Regions from separate parts of the Homo sapiens genome. Here all the other regions are linked to region 1. The links are contacts of gene promoters, found by promoter capture Hi-C in blood cells and fetal thymus (Javierre and others, 2016). All regions are on one chromosome and are shown on one strand. The core of a region is centred on a gene start or on the middle of the fragment in contact, and the rest is flanking DNA. Distances in the headings are between cores, read along the strand shown. Region 1 holds the start of ACTR6 (actin related protein 6). Region 2 overlaps UTP20 (UTP20 small subunit processome component). Region 3 overlaps UTP20 (UTP20 small subunit processome component).

Region 1 (2,700 bases), core at 119-2,618:
TGGGGCAGGCCCCCAGGGGAGGCAAGGAGCGCCGACAGAAGGGCCCAGGCGCTTGCAGGGCGCGAGTTCCCACCTCAAGCACCGTGGCGGCTCCCGCGCTGCGCACCTGGAAGTGCGCAGGCTGCTCCGCCGCCTCGTCGGCGCGCTGGTAGCTGAAGCAGGCTTCTGCTATGTCCAGGTGGCCGAGGGGCAGCGGGTCGTGGGGGTTCTTGAAGTAGCAGAGGCAGCAGCGGCGCCCGTCCAACACGAACCGACGGCTGCGGTAGCCACGCAGTCGCGCTGGTTCCCGCGCGGTACCCGCCCCGGGCTCTGCAGCCTCCCCATCGCCGTCGCTGCCCTCCTCTGCCCGGGTTCCGGCCCCGGTATGGCTGCCTGCGCGCCAACCGTTTGTTCCCCGGCCCCCGCGCCTTCGCGCTGCGGCTGCTGCGCTCCCTGCCCCCGCGGTGCCCCCTTCCCGCCGCCCCGCTCCTCTCTCAGGCGCTCAAAGTGGCCTGGAATTTGTAGAACGCCCCCCTCCAAGCCCGTTGGCAGTTGTCCTAGCCCGCTGGCCCTTGCCCCCGCCCGCTGGCCGTTGCCCCCGCGACGCCCCGGAAGCCAGGTCCTGCCTCCCGCACCTGCCAAGTCCCCGCCCTGCCGGAGTCTCGCTCTGTCGCCCAGGCTGGAGTGTAGTGGAGCCATCTCGGCTCACTGCAACCTCCGCCTCCCCGGTTCAAGCAATTCTCCCGCCTCAGCCTCCCGAGTACTTGGGATTACAGGCGCCCGCCACCTCGCCCGGCTACTTTTTGTATTTTTAATAGAGACGGGGTTTCGCCGTGTTGGTCAGGCTGGTCTCAAGCTCCTGACCTCAAGTGATCTGCTTGCCTTGGTCTCCTAAAGTGCTGGGATTACAGGCGTGAGCCACCGCGTCCGGCCCAAAAGCCTTTTTTGGATGAGAAAGACTCACTCAGCTTCGTCCTGAAGAGCAAGTGGGCTGGGGAAGAGGAGAGTATGAATGTGAGTCCAAGAGCAAGTTTTGCACTTTTTTCTTCAAAGAATGTCACCGTCTGAAGAATGCGATTGGAAGACACACACACACACACACACACACACACACACGCAGCCGGTTCTCTACAGGATTAGAAAAAACTTGCGCGAATTAATCTGCGTAGTTAAAAACAAATACGAAATGAGCGAGAAAGCACATAGTAGTCAAATCTCGCCACCACATAAACAGGTTAAGTTTGGAAGCACAGCCCCTAACATTCGGTGCTGCTTAGCATCTCCGACTTCCGGCGTCCTCCGTTGCTAAGGTGACCAGAGGCGCGTCCTAACGCTCCGCCCAACAAACCATAGAGTACCGGAAAAAGCTCGAGCAGAGGGGTCGGAAAGGGAAAACAACTACGGCTGCGGTGTGGTTGGTGGTGAGATGACGACCTTAGTGCTGGATAATGGAGCTTACAACGCCAAAATCGGTTACAGCCATGAAAATGTGTCGTAAGTACTTTCTTTCTCCGAGGGACAAGATATATACGCCTAGTGGTTTCATGTGCTACGTTTCATCTCCGGACATCAATGAACTGCAGACACCCCCGCGCGGCCCTGACTTAGCCAGAGGGATTCCCTGGTTGGAGCTGGGTGGGTGATTGTGATGCTTTGAATTGAAATTGATTTTGGTTTTAGTTTTGGGCTGCGAGGCCCCGGAAGTGGGATATATGTTTTATTTCGTAACAGGAAATAGCCAAAGAAAATAGGCTTATAGAGATGCGTTCCTGACAGAAGGGTCCGTAAAGTTCATCAGCCTTTGGAAACTATGGGCACGGTGTTTGGGTGTATGCGGATTTTCCTGGGTACAAGATTATAGGTTTCATTAGATTCTCAAAGGGTTCTATGACCCTCCAAAAGTCTAAAAATCACGGTCTTAGGATCTAGAGGCTTTGAAGACTTTGGCCTACTGGCCGACCTAGTTGGTAAGGTCAATTAAACAGAAGTACTGTTAATACAATGGCATTCATAACATGTATAGTCATAAAATATATGTTTGAATAAATAAGCAAACCTAAAGACACGCCTTTCCTTTATCAAATTAACAGAGCATTAAAAAAAATTCTTTCCTTCCTCCCTCCTTTCCTTCTTTTTCATTTCTTTTGAAACAGAAATGAAAGAGGGAAATCAAACTGAGTAGGAATGTAAATTGTTACAATCTTTCTGGAAAACGTTTTGGCAATGTGTATCATTATCATTGTCACCGAGGCTGGAGTGCCGTGGTGCGATCTCAGCTCACTGCAGCCTGAATTCAAGTGATTCTCCCGCCTCAGCCTCCAGAGTAGCTGGGATTATAGGCGTGCACCACCACTCCCAGCGAATTTTTTGTATTTTTGTTAGAGACGGGGTTTCATCATGTTGGCCAGGCCGGTCTCGAGCCCCTGGCCTCAAGCAGTCTACCCGCGTTGGCCTCCCAAAGTGCTGGTATTAGGGGCGTGAGCCCTACACCCAGCTGACAAAGCAATTTTTTTTTTTTTTTTTGGAGAGGGAGTCTGGCTCTCTTGTCCAGGCTGGAGTGCAGTGGCACGATCTCGGCTCGCTGCAACCTCTGCCTCCCGGGTTCAAGCCATTCTCATGCCTCAGCCTCCCAAGTAGCTGGGACTACAGTTGCGCACCACCACGCCTGGCTAAGTTTTGTATTTTTAGTAGAGACGGGGGTTTCACCATTTTGGCCATGCT
Region 2 (2,700 bases), core at 142-2,641, 1.1 Mb after region 1:
TGCGTGTGTAGATTAATGTCGTAAAGTTTGAAGGGTTTGTAATGCTGATCATTCCCAACTGTAACGTGGCATGATGTTGACCTTTTATAACTTCTTTAGTGGTTCCAACATGCACATTCCCACTCTTGTTCGGCCTCAACTTGAGGTGATCAGCATTTCAGAAAACTTCCCTGTGGTCTTTTTACTACACACTGAAACAATCCAGTTTCTTTTTTTTTGTTGGTTTGGTTTCTTTGTTTGCTTTTTAAGTATAGTTTAGCCAGCCTTTGATTTTGATAGCAGCACAGAGCCATTTGAGAGGAGCCAACAATATATCTTTTCTAAAGGTCAAGCCTTGCTGCTTTTTCCTGAAGTCTACTCCATTTTATTTCCAAGTGTTTTAAAGATTTATTCATTCACTTTGTTCAGTAGGTAATCATTTGCTTTTCTCACATGCCAAGCCCTGTTCCAGGCACTGTGAAACATAGTGAATAAAACAGACAAAATTCCCTGCCTTCTTGTAGCTAATGCTCTAGCCAGAAGAGGCACTAAACAGAATAAAAAGTAAACTATATAGCGTGTTAGGAGGTGCTAAGTGCTGTGAAGAAAAACAAAGCAGGGTCAGGAGATAGGGAGAGTCCAGAGGTGAGGGGAGCGGTAGCAGTTTTAAATCAAGGTGAACTTACTGAGGAGGAGACACTTAAGCAGAAGGCGGAAAGCAGTGAGGGACGTAAGCCATGAGGATACCTGCGGTCTGGGCTGCTCCCTGGGTTCCAGACCTGGAGGCGACATGAATGCCAACGCTCTGTGGGGGTGGTGGGTGCCTGGCTTGAACAGCAAGGAGAGGTCATCTTGGCTGAGCAGAGCACGAGAGTGGGCTGTAGGAGAAGAGGACAGAGAGGTGGAGGCAGTAGACCTCCTTAGGTCACCGTAGGGCCTTGGCTTTTACTCTGAATGAAAGGGGAGGCCATGGGAGGATTTTTGGCAGTGGAATGACTTTGACCTAAACAGAATCACTCCGGCTGCTGTGTTGAGACTGTAGGGGAATACTATAATAATCTGGAATCTCTTTGCCTTTCCAAATCTGGGTGAAGTTGGCATTTCTCCATGGTTAATTGCATTGGTTTAAATTAACTTCCTGTAGAGAGGATTAGTTCTTTGACATCACCACATTTACCATATTACATAGTCTCCCTTTTAAAATCATTCTGTTTAAACTTCTCATACTTTCACCCTTGGTATAAACAATTGAAGGTGGCTGTAGAAATTGAAACAAAAGACACACATAGCACAGAATGGGGTCCATGTTCCCCTTGGGGAAGGCCAGCTTGCCTCCCAGCCAGGTGGCTCTAAGCCTTGGAGACACAGAGTTGTCCAACAGGAGTGGCTCTGGTTTTGAGGGCAGGGGCATAAACTTGCAGAGTAGATGCAGGATTCTGTTCTCTTTGCTATGCTAGTAGACTGATGAGCACCTAGGTTTCACAGCCAAGACTGCCTGGTTTTGACTCTTGAATCCACCACTTACTAGCTGTAGCCTTGGGTGACTTAGTTAACCTCAACTTGATTATCTCTCAAAAAGGGGTAGTGAAGAAAAAAAGGAAGGAATAGAAATCTCACCTTGTAGAGATTAAGTTATACAATGCATGCAATAATAGTAATAAACAATTGCATTGATTGTGTCACAACAATTCCATGATGTGTGGGTACTGTTATCAGTATAGATGGAGGAACTAAAGTTTCAAAAGAAAGCCCTGGTCTGAACTCCTTTCTTCCGCTCTTGCCCTGCTGCTTCTAAGTATAGGACAGATCATGCCACTCCTTTGCTCATCACCCTCTAATACAGTGCTTCTCAACTGGGAGCAAACCTGGAGACTTTCCAGCTGTCACAGCATGGGGAAAGAGCACTGTTACTGGCATCTAGTGGGTGGAGGCCAGGGATGCTGCTGAGCCCCCTGCAGTGGGCAGCACTGCCCTCCACCACAAAGAGTTCTCTGGCCCAAAATGTCAGTAGTGCTACTGTAGAGAAACCTTGCTCGAGAGGTATCCCATCTCACTCTATAAAATCCAGCATCCTCATCATGTTCCTCGGGGCTCCGTATGAGCTAACTCCTGGCTAGTTCTGACATCTTCAGGCACTCTTTGTTAGTTCCAGCTGAGATGGCCTCCTCGATGTTCCTGCAGACAAGCACACCTCAGACTGGCATTGCAGTTCCCTCTGCCTAGAATGCTTTTCTTTCAGATACCCTTTTAGCTGACTTTTTCACTTCCTTTGGTCTCCGTTTTTTAGGAGCACCCCTGTATCAAATGGTGCTTCTCTTCACCTCCACACCGTCTCCCCACAACTCCCTGCATGTCAATCTCTTTGTCAAGCCTTTTTCCCCTGGTTTTCTGGAGAAAACCAGGGTTTTCTCCAGAACCTGGTTTCTCCAAACCTGGTTTCATGGAGCCTTTCTCCATGACGCTCATCACTGTCATAGTACTTATTTATTGGCTACTTTCCCCTACTAGAATATAAGTTCCAGGAAAAGGAACTTTGTCTTTTGTTAACTGCTATATCTACAGTATCTAGAAAAGTCACAGTACATAGTAGGTACTCAATGAATATTTGTTGCATAAGGATGGTACCAAGAGGTTAAGCAACTTGCCTGAGGTTACACTGCTTATGAGTAATGGTGCCAGATTCAACCCTGGGCTGCCCTACCCCAGAGCTCGTGTGTCAGA
Region 3 (2,700 bases), core at 149-2,648, 1.1 Mb after region 1:
AGTAGCTTAGATTTTCAATAATTGCTGAATAGGGCCCATGTCTACATTTTAAGTATTAAAGCCTTTTTTTTTTTAATTAATAGACATATTTTCTGTTATCTTGAGAAACAGTTTTAGCACTAACTTAGCTGATTTTGAAGGCATTTTGGGTGACTAAACATTGATTGGCTGTGTCAACAGTGAGAATAGCAAAGCATGAATTATATCATGGAAATTAGCTTTTAGAAGGGAGTAGGGTTTATACAAAAAAACAAGTGACTACTTTTCCCTTCTAGTTTAGTCAGACTTCATAGAGGACTGGGATTTCAGGATCTATTGTAGTCCATTGCAGTCATAATTACGTGGCCCTGAATTTCAGATAAGCTTGCAGAAAAAAATTAATATCAGAAATGAAGTAAGCATTGGATGTAATTCTAAGCCATCTGGGGAAACAAAATTTTCATTTTTCATTTGGATGTTTCTTCTGGCATCTTATTGACTATCATTACCTTCATAGGATAAGAGATTTTCCTTAGTACATGACCAGCCTAGTTGGCTTAAATCCAGATTCACATAGAGAATCGGCCTCACCAGGCTGCACACAGTAGCTCACGCCTGTAATCCTAGCACTTTGGGAGGCCAAGGCGGACAGATCACCTGAGCTCAGGAGTTCGAGACCAGCCTGGGTAACATGGTGAAACTGCGTCTCTACCAAAAACAAAAAAATTAGCCAAGTGTGGTGGTGGGTGCCTGTGGTTCCAGCTTCTCGGGAGGCTGAGGCAGGAGAATCGTTTGAACCCAGGAGGCAGAGGTTGCAGTGAGTCGAGATCGTATCACTGCACTCCAGCCTGGAAAACAGAGCAAGACTCTGTTTGAAAAAAAAAAGAGAAAGAGAGAGAGGATTGGCCTCACCCAAAAGCTGGTAGACCCCAGGGTATGACTGTGGGATGCAGGTGTCAGAGAGTTTTGTTTCCATTTTTACTTTGCATATATTCTGTTCATCTTTTTTTACTTCCAGGAAAATGTGAAGCTGTTGTTAGCAATCAGGTTTAGGTCTTGTGTAAAAATTTAGAATTTTTCAAATCTCATTTAGCAAATAACCACAAGTAAATTGCTATCCTATGGTATATGTATATATGACTTCATTAATTCTGTAAAATACTGTTCTTAGTTGTTGCTACACCAAGATCAAATGGTGCAAAAAATAACCTTGGATTGCATAATGACATATAAACATCCTCATGTCCTCCCTTACAGGTAAGTTACTTGAAGCTTAAAGAACTGTTATTTCTTCAGCTGATTTTTATATTTCTGCCTAAGAGCCTCTTCTAGAATAATTTATTAAAGGCCTAGAAAGTTTCCCTTTTTTCTGAGGTCATCGTATTTCCAAGCAAGAAATGAAAACGAGTAGTATATTTGTTGGGTTGTTCTCCATGATACTAAAATAGAGAATGTTAATTTTAAAACTGTGTTGTAAATATTATGTCATTTTCCTCTTCTTATTAATATAATGCCATAGAATCTTGGTGGTTACTTAGAGAATCAAAGTCACTCTAAGAACTGAGGAAAGCTTTTTGTATCATGCTTTTTTAAACAGCTGAGTTATGGACAGAATCTAATCTTTTCTAATCCGTTATACCTTTTGAAATGTACAAATCTGTCATTTTAGGAGATTTTTTTGAGGATTTTCCTTTATGGATATCAACCATAATATGTACTATATACCTTATTTTAGTTATTACTCTGTGTACATATTTCACTCTTTCATTATTCAAAAGCACTGTTGATAAAGTGGTGATTTGTGCTGTTCTCTGTTTTTAAAGGGAAAACTTACAAAGGTTGCTTGAAGACAGAAGCTTTAAGGAAGAGATAGTGCATTTTAGCATTTCAGAAGATAATGCTGTAGTGAAAACAGCCCACCGAGCAGATCTATTTCCTATTCTGATGAGGTATTTATGCTGTTCAAACACTGATTTTTAAAAAGTTAATAACAAACACAATTGTGAGTACAGTATTATGGTTCTTTCAACAACTGTAATAGAATATTTCATTTTCTATTTTCTTTTGATTGCATTTTCTTTGGAGATGGGGTCTTGCTCTGTCACCCAGGCTGGAGTGCAGTGGCATGATCACAGCTCATTGCAGCCTAGACCTCCCAGGCTCAAGTGATGCTCCCACCTTGGCCTCCCAACGTGCTAAGATTACAAATGTGAGCCATCACCGCCAGCTGCTTTTTTTTTGAATTGTACCTTTGGGAGAAGCCAAATTGGTATAGAGACTAAATTTTGTTCCTAACATAAAGAAAGATCTTTATTTATTTTTTTTTTAGAGGGAGTCTCGCTCTGTCACCCAGGCTGGAGTGCAGTGGTGTGATCTCAGCTCACTGCAACCTCCGCCCTCCCAGGTTCAAGCTATTCTTGTGCCTCAGCCTCCTGAGTAGCTGGGATCACAAGCGTGCGCCACCATGCCTGGCTAATTTTTGTATTTTTAGTAGAGAAAGAGTTTCACCATGTTGGCCAGGCTGGTCTTGAACTCCTGACCTCAGGCGATCCACCCGCCTCTGCCTCCCAAAGTGCTGGGATTACAGGCGTGAGCCACTGCGCCTGGGCCCTAATATAAAGAAGATCTTACCATAGTATTATTGTGACAATAATATAATTAAATTTAATATTTTCCTAAATTTTACTGTTGAGATACAGTAGAAATATTTCACTCTGTTTT

What was found. The method cuts DNA at HindIII sites, captures the fragments that hold promoters and counts their contacts. A CHiCAGO score of 5 or more calls a contact.
Region 2: a contact is called between a fragment that was not itself captured here and the fragment with the promoter of ACTR6 in region 1, in 3 of 17 cell types (total CD4 T cells, total CD8 T cells and total B cells). The highest score is 6.1, in total CD4 T cells.
Region 3: a contact is called between a fragment that was not itself captured here and the fragment with the promoter of ACTR6 in region 1, in 6 of 17 cell types (naive CD8 T cells, naive CD4 T cells, total CD4 T cells and 3 more). The highest score is 8.2, in naive CD8 T cells.

Annotation. Positions count from the first base shown.
Region 1 is chr12:100,199,447-100,202,146 of GRCh38, forward strand. ACTR6 (actin related protein 6) reads left to right here and starts at 1,369. Exons shown (of 11, transcript NM_022496.5): 1 at 1,369-1,473. The coding sequence starts at 1,406. RefSeq lists a silencer at 313-672 and enhancers at 1,165-1,459, 1,433-1,632, 2,477-2,700. The HindIII fragment of the contact is 11,223 bases long and covers 1-2,700 here.
Region 2 is chr12:101,302,770-101,305,469 of GRCh38, forward strand. The region is part of intron 15 of UTP20 (UTP20 small subunit processome component); the gene reads left to right. Among named protein-coding and RNA genes, the nearest start is that of UTP20, 24 kb to the left of the region's middle. The HindIII fragment of the contact is 8,224 bases long and covers 1-2,700 here.
Region 3 is chr12:101,319,702-101,322,401 of GRCh38, forward strand. It overlaps UTP20 (UTP20 small subunit processome component), which reads left to right. Exons shown (of 62, transcript NM_014503.3): 24 at 1,151-1,236; 25 at 1,803-1,928. Among named protein-coding and RNA genes, the nearest start is that of UTP20, 41 kb to the left of the region's middle. The HindIII fragment of the contact is 298 bases long and covers 1,250-1,547 here.